4 separate regions of the Homo sapiens genome follow, and regions 1, 2 and 4 are each linked to region 3. Evidence: promoter capture Hi-C in 16 types of primary human blood cells and fetal thymus (Javierre and others, 2016). All regions are on one chromosome and are shown on one strand. Each heading gives the region's core, a stretch centred on a gene start or on the middle of the fragment in contact. The rest is flanking DNA. Distances are from core to core; before and after follow the strand shown. Region 1 has its middle 19 kb from the start of MPC1-DT. Region 2 overlaps RPS6KA2 (ribosomal protein S6 kinase A2). Region 3 holds the start of PRR18 (proline rich 18). Region 4 has its middle 37 kb from the start of LNCDAT.

Evidence for each region. Contacts are between HindIII fragments. The CHiCAGO score rates a contact against its expected background, and 5 or more counts as called.
Region 1: a fragment that was not itself captured here is called in contact with the fragment with the promoter of PRR18 in region 3 in 15 of 17 cell types (total B cells, naive CD8 T cells, monocytes and 12 more); the score reaches 10.9 in total B cells.
Region 2: a fragment that was not itself captured here is called in contact with the fragment with the promoter of PRR18 in region 3 in 1 of 17 cell types (neutrophils); the score reaches 6.0 in neutrophils.
Region 4: a contact is called between a fragment that was not itself captured here and the fragment with the promoter of PRR18 in region 3, in 1 of 17 cell types (neutrophils). The highest score is 5.4, in neutrophils.

Annotation. Positions count from the first base shown.
Region 1 is chr6:166,400,691-166,403,390 of GRCh38, forward strand. No RefSeq gene overlaps it. Among named protein-coding and RNA genes, the nearest start is that of MPC1-DT, 19 kb to the left of the region's middle. The HindIII fragment of the contact is 5,224 bases long and covers 1-2,700 here.
Region 2 is chr6:166,420,224-166,422,977 of GRCh38, forward strand. The region is part of intron 17 of RPS6KA2 (ribosomal protein S6 kinase A2); the gene reads right to left. It overlaps LOC124901460 (a long non-coding RNA gene), which reads left to right. Exons shown (of 2, transcript XR_007059866.1): 2 at 1,418-1,530. Among named protein-coding and RNA genes, the nearest start is that of MPC1-DT, 38 kb to the left of the region's middle. The HindIII fragment of the contact is 2,193 bases long and covers 322-2,514 here.
Region 3 is chr6:166,306,972-166,309,671 of GRCh38, forward strand. PRR18 (proline rich 18) reads right to left here and starts at 1,421. Exons shown (of 1, transcript NM_175922.4): 1 at 1-1,421. The coding sequence starts at 1,171. The coding sequence ends at 284. It overlaps LOC107986669 (a long non-coding RNA gene), which reads left to right and starts at 577. Exons shown (of 3, transcript XR_001744464.2): 1 at 577-752. RefSeq lists a silencer at 904-1,503 and an enhancer at 1,574-1,853. The HindIII fragment of the contact is 8,012 bases long and covers 1-2,700 here.
Region 4 is chr6:166,204,192-166,206,891 of GRCh38, forward strand. No RefSeq gene overlaps it. Among named protein-coding and RNA genes, the nearest start is that of LNCDAT, 37 kb to the left of the region's middle. RefSeq lists an enhancer at 1,202-2,401. The HindIII fragment of the contact is 433 bases long and covers 1,166-1,598 here.

The DNA.
Region 1 (2,700 bases), core at 163-2,662, 94 kb after region 3:
TCAAGTGACCTGCCTGCCTTGGCCTCCCAAAGTGCTGGGATTACAGATGTGAGCTACAGCGCCTGGCCTTCATCAGCTTTTCTTAATACTGATGGAGCCCACGGACTCCTGGTCCTGTTGTGAACTTCAGGTTGGCAATCGCTTGCCCTGGGCTGTATGAGGAGCCAGTGGCAGGACCCTGTCTGACCGGTGACCCATGGGGGCTCTGGCCATCGCAGTGCACGGGTCCTGAGAGGGCTCCCAGAGCTGCAGGGCTGAGCGCGTTCTGCATGGCCTGCAGGTCTAGCTGTACAAGCACTGCCCTCTGCTGGCATTTTGTAACAATTGCAAACACACAGAACTTACTTGTCCCGCAACGTAGTGAAGTTTCCAGAAGGAAAAGAGATGAATTTATGCCGGGGTGGTGGTTCACGCCTGTAATCCCAGCACTTTGGGAGGCCAAGGAGGGCGGATCACCTGAGGTCAGGAGTTCAAGACCAGCCTGGCCAACATGGTGAAATCCCATCTCTACTAAACAATACAAAAATTAGCCAGGTGTGGTGGCACGCGCCTGTAATCCCAGCTACTCAGGAGGCTGAGGCAGGAGAATCACTTGAACCCGGGAGGAGGAGGTCGCAGTGAGCTGAGATTGTGCCGCTGCACTCCAGGCTGGGCGACAGAACGAGACTCCGTCTCAATTAAAAAAAAAAAATAAAGAGGTGAATTTATATAGTTAACAGGCCACGTTCAACAAGGCCACCCCAGCCACCCGAGGCCCCATGTAGAATTTTGAATGGCCACATGCGTAGTGGACGCTGAACAGGGAACTCGTAAATTCCAGCCCAGTCCCCACCTATTCACTCATTTACAAATAATGATTTGTGCCCAGCACCGGGCCAGGCATAGAAAGAAGAAAAGGATTGCAACTCTCAGGGGTGCTCCAGGCTAGGGGGAGAGAGGCGCACACAAGAACAATTTCACTTCAGTCTCTTCCTCGATCCGGTATGAGGCTGTATAAAGGGCAGTCCGGATTGTATGGAGGTAATAATGTCTGAGCTGAAATGGAAAGGATTACGCAGGATTTGTCTGTTGGACATCTCTGACCAAAACGGCACTGAAACCTGATGACAGTACTTAGCACCAGGTATCTGAGTGGGAGGCTGTTGAGAGTAAATGGAGTTACGGTGGAAGAAATTCTGAGGTCCTTTAAAATGACCAAGCTGCCCGGGACCTTGCCATGTATCTGCTGGCATGTATGATTTGGTGTGAAAATATCAGGCCCAGATAACAGCCAAATTGCCTCACTTTCTGCAAGCTAAACACAGTCTAACTGCGTTAGCTACACACACACACTCTCTCTCTTTCATGCATCACTGAATGATGGAAACACGTTCTGGTAATTTCATCACTGTGTCGACATTAGAGAGTGCATTTACACAAACCTAGATGGTATAGCCCATTGTGTACTTAGGCTCTATGGTGTAGCCTATTGCTCCCAGGCTACAAACCTAAGCAGCATGGTACTGTGCTGAATACTGTAGGCAACTGTAACACAATGATAAGCATTTGTGTATCTAGACATATCTAAACATAGAAAAGGTACAGTAAAAATATGATATGGTATTGTCATCCTATAGGACCACCATTGTATATGCATCTATCTATCTATCTATCTATCTGTCTATCTGTATAGATATAGATATATACAGTCATGCACGACACAATGTTTCGGTCAGTGACTGACTGCATATACAAAGGTGGCCCCATGAGATGACTCTCTCTCCCTCTCCCTCTCCCTCTCCCTCTCCCTCTCCCCCTCCCCCTCCCCCTCCCCCTCCCCCTCCCCCTCCCCCTCCCCCTCCCCCTCCCTCTCTCTCTCTCTCTCTCTCTCTCTCTCTCTCTCTCTCTCTCTCTCTCAGGAACCATTCTTAGAGTTAGCTGCTCCACACCCTTTCTTTCACCTTCCTTTGTCGCCTCATCCAGCAGGCTTTCCGGAATGCAGATGCTGGCATCTGGAAGCATGAAGATGAGGCCTGTGAGTTAGAGGTCCTTTGGGACCGGGAGGGCTCAGAGGAGCTGGGCTGCCATCCAGCCTGCCCTGAGGCTCGCCTGAGAGATCTACAAACTTAGACCTCAGAAGGCTGCTGTCACTTTGGGCTTCCTGCTGCTCACAGTGAAACCTAATCTTTTTTCAGGGAATGGTTAATCGTTTTATGGAGATATAATTCACATACCATACAATTTACCCATTTGAAATGTACCACCTTCAGTATGTTTACAGGGTGTGTGACCATCATCACATTCTAATTTTTGAACATTTTTGGCACCCCCACCAAAAAAAACACTTTACACCCATTATCAGTCACTATCTATTCCCTCTCCACTAATGTTCTCCTTGGCAACCACCAATCTGCTTTCTGTCTCTGTGGATTTGCTGTCCTGGACATTTTATGTAAATGAATCACACCACATGTGGCCTTTGTGTCTGGCTTCCTTCACTGTGTAGTGTTTCAAGGCTCACCTATGTTGGAGCATTTATCAGCACTCCGTTTATTTTTGTGGCTGAATAATATTCCATTGCATGGATAGCACATTTTGTTTCTCCATGAATCCACTGGTGGATATCTGGGTTGTTTCCATGTTTTTACTGATACATATTCATACACACTTATGGGGTAGGTGTGGTGTTTTGTTGCATGCACAGAATGTGTTATGACCAAG
Region 2 (2,754 bases), core at 168-2,667, 110 kb after region 3:
CAGAAGGATTTTTCTGTTACGGTAAAATATGTATGACATAAAATTGACCATCAAAGCCCTTTTTAAGTGCACAGTTTAGCAGCATTAAGCCCATTTACATTGTGGTGCCAACATCACCACCATCCATCCACAGAGCATTTCACCTTCCCAAACTGAAACTCTGTCCCCATTAAACAACAACTCCCTGTCCCCCAGCCCCCAACACCTACCCTTCTACTGTCCGTCTGTGTGAATCTGACTCCTCCAGGGACCTCATAGGAGTGGAATTATGCAATGTTTGTCTTTCTGTGACTGGCCCATTTCACTTAGTATAACACCCTAAGCTTCCTCCAGGGGTCAGAAGTTCCTTCCTTCTGCAGGCTGGACAATGTTCCGCTGTGTGTGCATGCCACGTTTTGCTTACCCATTCATCCACCGAGGGACACTCTCGTGGCTTCCACCTTTTGGCTGTTGTGAATAGTGCTGCTATGAACATGGGTGGACACATGTCTCTTTGCGTCCCTGCCTTCAATTCTTTTGGGTATATACCCAGAAGTTCCATTCTGGGCTACGTGATAACATTTAATTTTTTTGAAGAACTGTTAAAGCAGCAAAACTTGTATGCATCCTAGGATTACATACTTCAGTAGAGGGCAATCCTCTGATATAGTTACAGTTGAATAACAACAAAGGAAGCCACAATGGTGCTCATGGATTACTGCAGATGACTGGATTTAGCATTAAATATCGAGTCGGGAGAGCTCGGCTCAATTTCCTTAGAGATGAGAGCAAGGAGCCTGTCCTTTTCTCTGTATCGCTGCTACCATGTGTGAGCCTGCACCATGGAGGGGACCAGCCAGCGCATGCTGAATGAATGTGGTGCTCATGGTGCAAGCCTCACTTCCTAATCCATCAGCGGGGTGACCTTCAGAAGTCACTTACACACATGGAGCTTGTGCTTTCTGACTCTGTGAAACATGGTTAATAGATTTTACCCTGCCTACTTTGTATGGTGGATGAGAGTGAAAGTAAAAAAAGTTGGTAAAAGTGCTTTGTAAATGGCAAAGGAATATCACAACCTAGGGCATTCTACAATCAATAAAATCAATATTGTGGGAGACCAGAATATGCCACCCCAAAATATGCTGCATAGGCGTGAGGGGCGCTGAGCTGAAGATACATAAGAAGCAGCAGATGCAGGAGAGCTCTGTGTCCTCCATTTGTCTAAAATCAGGACATGGATTAAGACAAAAGGTACCTACCCCCAACCAGAGAGGACAAAGGCTTCCCCTAGGGACAGCTTTGGATGCATGTGGTCCCACCTGGGACCAGCCTCCATAGGCCAGCCCTGCACCTCCCCAAGCTGCAGCCCCTGGAGACCCTAACCCTCTTCCTTTGTCTTGCCAGGTCTCTAAAAATTCTCTGTTCTTTGTTGCAGATACCATGTAGGCTGGATTCAAAGCCACCTCTGTGAGGATGACTCCTTCTCTGGGCATCTCGCATGCATAAATGAGAAGATGTGTGTTAATAAACTTCTTTTTCTCTTGTTAATCTGTCTTTTGTTACAGGGGTCTGGTCCAGCTAAGAACTTATGAGGGATGAGGAAAACGTCATTTTCCTCCCCCATAATATTATCAATATTAATATTGATTAAGTAAGGCATGAACAGAGGCTTATAACCTGGTTACTTTCATTTTTTTTAGTTTTTATTTTTTGAGACGGAGTCCTGCTCTTTCAACCAGGCTGGAGTGCAGTGGCGTGATCTCGGCTCACTGCAACCTCCACTTCCCGGGTTCAAGCGATTCTCCTGCCTCAGCCTCCTGAGTAGCTGGGACTGTGGGCACACACCACCACACCTGGCTAATTTTTGTATTTTTAGTAGAGACGGGGTTTCACCATGTTGGCCAGGCTGGTCTCCAACTCCTGACCTCAGGTGATCCACCTGCCTCGGCCTCCCAAAGTGCTGGGATTACAGGCGTGAGCCACCGCACCCAGCCAAACTTGGTTATTTTTAAAGGGGCCACAGGTTGCTCAAGTGTCTGGATGACCCCTGCATAACCTAAAACAGCCTCTCAGTCCAGCCCCTGGCTGCACATCCGTTCACGTCTCAGCACGCAGAAGCATCTTTGCAATGGACCAGTGGCCCTGGGTGACCTCTTAAACAACTCCAAGACCCACAGTGAGATGCCAGGCGCCTCAGACCTGGCTGCTCGCTTGACTCCCCTCCCATCGGAGCAGCTCTGGTCCAGTTCCATCAAGAACCCACGGGATCCACACAGACTCTGAAGTCCGCCTTCCTTCCCAGTTCCCTCCTCCCCTGTCCCATTGGCAACATCAGCCACAGCCCTTCCCTTCCTCTCTTTACCACTGGCTTTTCTCAAAGGCAAGAAATTGGGCTTAGATTTATAAACACATCCTTGAATTCAGAACCTAATGGAACTTGTTCCCGGGAAATGTGAAAAGAGAGAAGTTCACCAGGTGCCTGCTAGCTGCTCCGAGCGGGGCTGGGAGCAGACACAGACACTGAACAACGTAAGCTTTCAGTGGCAAATCACCCCGGAGCCCTGCGGTTCTCAATCTGACAGCTGCTGACTTGCTGCTGTCGGGGAACCAATCTGGAGTGAGAATTGGGGTGCAGAGAAAATCCGTAAACTTAGTTGCTCCCTGCGCTATGACGGATCCATTTCCCATCCCAGGTGAACCGCAGCTCTGCGTCCTGGTTGTATAAGGAGACTACTGCATCATCTCTCTAACTTGGAATAAATATGCAGATTT
Region 3 (2,700 bases), core at 171-2,670:
AAGAGGAGGCCAGAGTGGGGGCAGAGGCAGGCATCTGGGGTAGATACCACCGGTGTGAACGAGAAAGGCCCGGGCTGCCGGCTGGCGAGGGCAGGAGGGGGGCCGTGGCCGTCGGGCGAGTCTGGCTGCGCCCCACGTGGGCCAGCTTGCGCACTGGTGTCCCGAAAGTGGGCGCTGGCGGCCAGAGGAGCCTGCGGTCTCCCCCGAGGGCCCCTAGGCGGAGTGGCGCGTGCAGGAAGTGAGGTGGGATCAGGCCTGGCCTGTCCCCGCAGGCCCGCTGGGCTCACAGCGTGCTCAGGTGCCGCCGTGAGTCCAGGGCCCCCGCCCGGCCCCGCGCGGCAGCCGCGGACTCCACGCCGCGCAGCCACTCCGTGCACTTGCGTACCAGGCCCTCGTCCACCGCCTCTGGCTCCTCCTCGTACTCCACGTCGTCGTACCTGTGCCGCTCGTTGAGCAGCGACACCTTGAGCATCGGCCGCAGGGCCCCGGGCCGCGGGCTGAGCTGGGGAACCTGCAGGCCGCCGTGCAGCAGCTGGGCGCCGGGCGGAGGCGCGCGGCGGCCCTGGCCGGCGGTGGGGGGTGCGTCGGGGTCGCTGGCGGGGCCGCCCCTCCGCGGGCCCGCGGCCCTAGCCGGGAGACACGGGGCGAGTAGGCGCCTGGGTTCGGCCGAGGGTGAGGGGAAGGGCCTGCGGGGCCGCGCCAGCAGCTGCTTCTCCAGATGACGCTTCTGGATGACCAGGACGGCCTCGGGGGTGAGATTCAGGCAGAAGCGCGCAGCGGAGTCTGGACAAGGCCCCGCCCCCGAGGAGGTGCCCGCGGCGGTGGTCCCCGTCCCCGCCGAGGTCGCCGCATAGGTGGTCCTCGCTGGGCTGTGGCCGGAGCCTGCCGGCCGGGGCGGGGCGCACGTGGCTGGGGCCCGCGCGCGGCTGGGCAAGGCCTGGGGGGAGACGCCCGGAGGGGCCGGCGGCTGCGTCCTGTCCAGGCCGGGGCCGCGCCGGGCCGGCGGCCTCTTGAGCGTGGCGGAGGGCCAGGAGCTGGAGAGGAGCCCCTCGGGCCGCTGTGGGGGCCTCTTCTTCTTGTCCCCCGCGGCGCAGGGCCTCCGGGGTAACTGGCGCGCGGCTTGGGCCCCCGGGGCGGGGGCGGGCGGCGGCGGCATGGGCGGGAAGGGCATAGTGCAGCCGAGCCGCCGGATCCTCAGCCCCTGGAAAGAGAGGCGGGCGCTCAGCCACTGTGCGCGGAGCGGGTCCCCGCAGTCCGGGCGGCCCCTCCACACCCACCTGCGTCCAGCCGCGGCCTCTCCGGCTTCCTCACATCCCAGCGACCAAACCCGGGGACTCAAAGAGAGGCGCTCCCACCCTCCCCTCCTCCTGGGGGTGCTCCCGGGACTGGACCCTGCAGGAACCGCCTCCCGCCGTCCGACTGTGGGCGAGTCGCGGCGCCCCCGGGTCCCCACAGCTGAGACGCGGGCCGGGCCGGCAGGAGGAGGAGCCCAGCGCGCTCGCTAAGGACGCGGCCCTGCCAGGCCCCGGGCTGTGCCCGGCTGGTGTCACGACCGACTGTTGAATGGGAGCAAAGTGCCAGGACAGCGGAGGGCGGAGCGCGCGCCAGGCATCCCGGGGCTCCCCCAGCTGGCGCTCCGGTGGTCCGAGGTTAATGTAGTCCGTCGAAAGCCAGGAGCATTCCCCTGGGGGAGCCGGCAGCCTTCCGGAGTCACAGGTGGAGGCCCTGCACGTTTCAGAGAAAATCCCCTGTAGCCTCTCCGTGCCTTCGAGACGGCGGGAAAGGCACCGCCAGTAGATGCAGCTCTGCGGCCCCGGACACATCCTGCTTCACAGAGAAAAGCGGGCTGGAGCTGAGAGGGGAGAAATGACCCTCAGTGAATCTTACATAGTGTTCATGCCACCCCTTGAGGAGTCACTTTCAAATTCAAAACCTAAGTATCTATGAACAGGCAAAATAGTTCAGTTTCAGCTATATAATGCTGATTACATGGCAAATATTAGACATCAAGTCCCTTTAATAATTCTTATGAGCAAAGCAATATATTTATCACTGTAGCAGAGATTCAGAATTAATGAGATAAATCTTCACTGTCAATTTACATTCTAGTCGTAGACACATGAAGACATCCTACAATATTCAAATGTTTGTTTAATAAATAATTGAACAATTGCAAAGTGACGGATCAAAAAGTCAACATTTCATGTGTGCAGTCCCTGCATTACTTAAGGATAATCATCAGCTGCTTAGATCTCCACAAAGTACTTTCCATCAGATACACTTTTCTGATGGAAACCAGGTGTGTGATGGTTACGGCCCCAGGTTAGCTCCAGAGCACATTCAACTGTGGGTAAACACAAATGTGCCCTGTGCCAACAGTCACAGCAGGACAGCATGGCCCTCCCCCAGCCGCCTCAGTCTCCGAGGCAGCAGCAACGCCTCCCCTTGTTGACTGTTGGTGGCCTCAGAGAACTGCGCTGTGGATACATGGGAGCGTCAAGGAAACCTGGCAGGTGGTGGGAAACACTTCTCACCAGAGCTTGGGTTGGGGTGACAGGTTTGGGCCCTGTCATCTCTACCAGCACCTCCCAAGCCACCCCAATACAGCTCTGAAACAAGCCTCCCAGCTCACAGGCACTTTCCCTCCATCCCTGCCAGCCTGTCTCTGCCGGTGGGCTCAGGCTGTTAATCGGCTTGACA
Region 4 (2,700 bases), core at 132-2,631, 100 kb before region 3:
AAAAAAATCTCACGACTGAAATATCTCAGAAACGACATTTCAATATATAAAGGAGACATCAATTTTAAGTTACAAGTAAGGAGAAATTTGGAAACAGAACATACAATTTAACTAAGATTAAGTCTTTCAAAATAATAAGCAGCACTCTAAAACTGAAATCAAGAACGATTTTCATGACTATTTGAATTTTTTTAAATTAATGTTGGTGTTTTTTTTGAGACAGGGTGTCACTGTGTTGCCCATACTGCAGTGAACTGGCAGTGTCATAGCTCACTGCAGCCTCAAGCTCCTGGGCTCAAGTCATCCTTCCACCTCAGTCTCCCAAGTAGCTGGGACTACAGGTATGCACCATGACATCTGGCTAATTTTTTAGTTTTTGTGGAGACGGAATCTCGATATGTGGCCCAGCCTGGCCTCAAGTAATCCTCCTGCCTCAGCCTCGCAAAGTGCTGGGATTACAGGCATGAGCCACGACACCTGGCCTAAATATTTCTCAAAAATAAACCAAGAATGATTTTCAAGGCCTAAGAAAAAGACATGGCACTGATGAGATTTTGAAGACTTTTATTAAAAGTAATAAGCATAGTTCATTCACCCAAAACTGACAGTGGAAAATCTGAATGTTTCAAGTAAGTAGAGGAAATTCCCCCAAATGAAGAGGGGATGACAGAGTCCTGAAGTTAGCTACTGGACACCTTCAGCGGCAGACACTGGAAGATTAGTTACAAGAGGGCTCGACAGGCCTGCAGGTAAAACAAACAAAGCAAAACAAACTGAAACAAGAAAGCACAGCCAGGCTCTCTCTCCCCAGCTCAGCAGGAGCTCCAGCCCCAGCTGCCATCATTCCTAGCACTCCGGTAGCAGCGTTACTATTACTAACACTTACGGTATCTTCAAAATCATCCTCCTGGCAACCAATGTGAAGTCACCACCAGGCCCAGAAAGTGGCTGTGACTCTCCCCTGGTGGCCAACACTGCTAGCTGCTGACCTAACTTCCGTTACCCATCCTCTTCCTCACTACCAGGCCCGTAGGTACTGCTGTGGGGTATAAGGTGCGCAGCTGAAGAAAATGCATTTTTCCAGCCCCCTTGTGAGATGGGGTGGCCATATGACCACGCTCTGGTCAGCAGAATGTCAGTGAAGTTTTTGGGTGGAGATTCCAGAAGCTTCCTGAGAAGAGGGCTGGCGGGATGGGCAGGGATCCCCTCTGTCTCAGGCCCTCTGCCGCAGAGGTAGTATGAGGTCAGGAGCAGGAAGCCCCCACCAGCAACAGGCAAGAGCGAGCAGCACCATGGGGTCCCCAAGCCAGCCAGGGACTCTCAGCGACAGGAGAGAAAGGCAAGCCTCTGCGTTCTCGCAAGAGGCTCTTTTCTGGAGGCGGTTTCAGTTTTGCGGTGCTGAATCCAGTTCTGTAAGGGAAGAAAAAGTTATTTCCTCACCCATTGCTAGGTTTATGGCTGAGACACCTATCATAAAAGACAGATAAACAAGAGAAAAGCAGGCGAATTTATTTCATTGTATGTAATTTTTACATGACACAGGCACCTTTAGATATGAAGACCAAAAGGCACAGGGAGGCCTGTGTATCTTTAGGCTAAGCTTGATGGAGAGCGGACAGTGGTGGAAAAGGGTGAGTACACAGAGCGGGTGTCACCTGATGGCAGTGAACTGCGGGAATATGCAAGGTGCCAGATTTCAGGGTCTTGTGTCCCAAACCCCATTAGTGTCTAACTCAGTGTGGATATAACTGCTGGGACGCTAGCAGCGGTCTCTTTGGAAATTGCCAGAGCGCGCCACCGCGGCTGCTGGGTCACTGGGCTTCTGTGTTATGATGGATGCTGTATTCGTCATCCATCATTTGTGGTGTGTTGTAAAGCATCACAAACTGGGTGCCTTTAAACAACAGAAATTTGTTCCCTTACAGTTCTGGATCCCAGAAGCCTGACATCACGGTATCGGCAGGGCCGTGCTCCCTCCTGGGAAGCTTCCCTCCCCTCTTCCCTCTTCTGGCATTGCTGGTGCGTCAGCCCGGTCTCCACCTCCGTCTTCACACAGCCATGACCCCGTGTGTCTCTCCTCCTCTTCAGATGTTCTTCAGTAAGGACATCAGTCATGTTGGATTAGGACCCACCCTGATGACCTCATCCTAGCTCACATCTCGATGTCATCTGCAAAAATCCTATTTCCAAAGAAGGCCACTTCACAGGCCCCAGGACTTAAGATTTTAATGTATCTTTTGCAACAAACACCTTAGCGAAATTTCTTGCAACACACACCTTGGTTTAATGTTCTTGAACTAATCCACTGGCCTCTGGGACTCAGGCATAGCTCTTTGGGCCTCTCAAACTGGCCTGATGTCCTGGGACCAAATTTGCACTGTGCCTAACCTTGGGCTGAGGATTTTTGCCAGAAAGCTCTGGTCTCTCATACCCCAGGCAGGCCCATCCTTCCAGTCCTCCAGGCAAAGCGAATCTGAACTGTGTTAGTTCTAGGCTGTGCCAAGTCCAGGCTCCCTGAGGTTTCTACACTGCCTTTATATTTATAGATCTTAAAAAAAAAAAAAAAAAAAAAAAGGTACTGTTTCTGGTATGGTTTGGCTGTGTTCCCACCCATATCTCATCTTGAATTGTAGCTCCCATCACTCCCACTTGTTGTGGGAGGGACTTGGTAGGAGATAATTGAATCACAGGGGCAGTTCC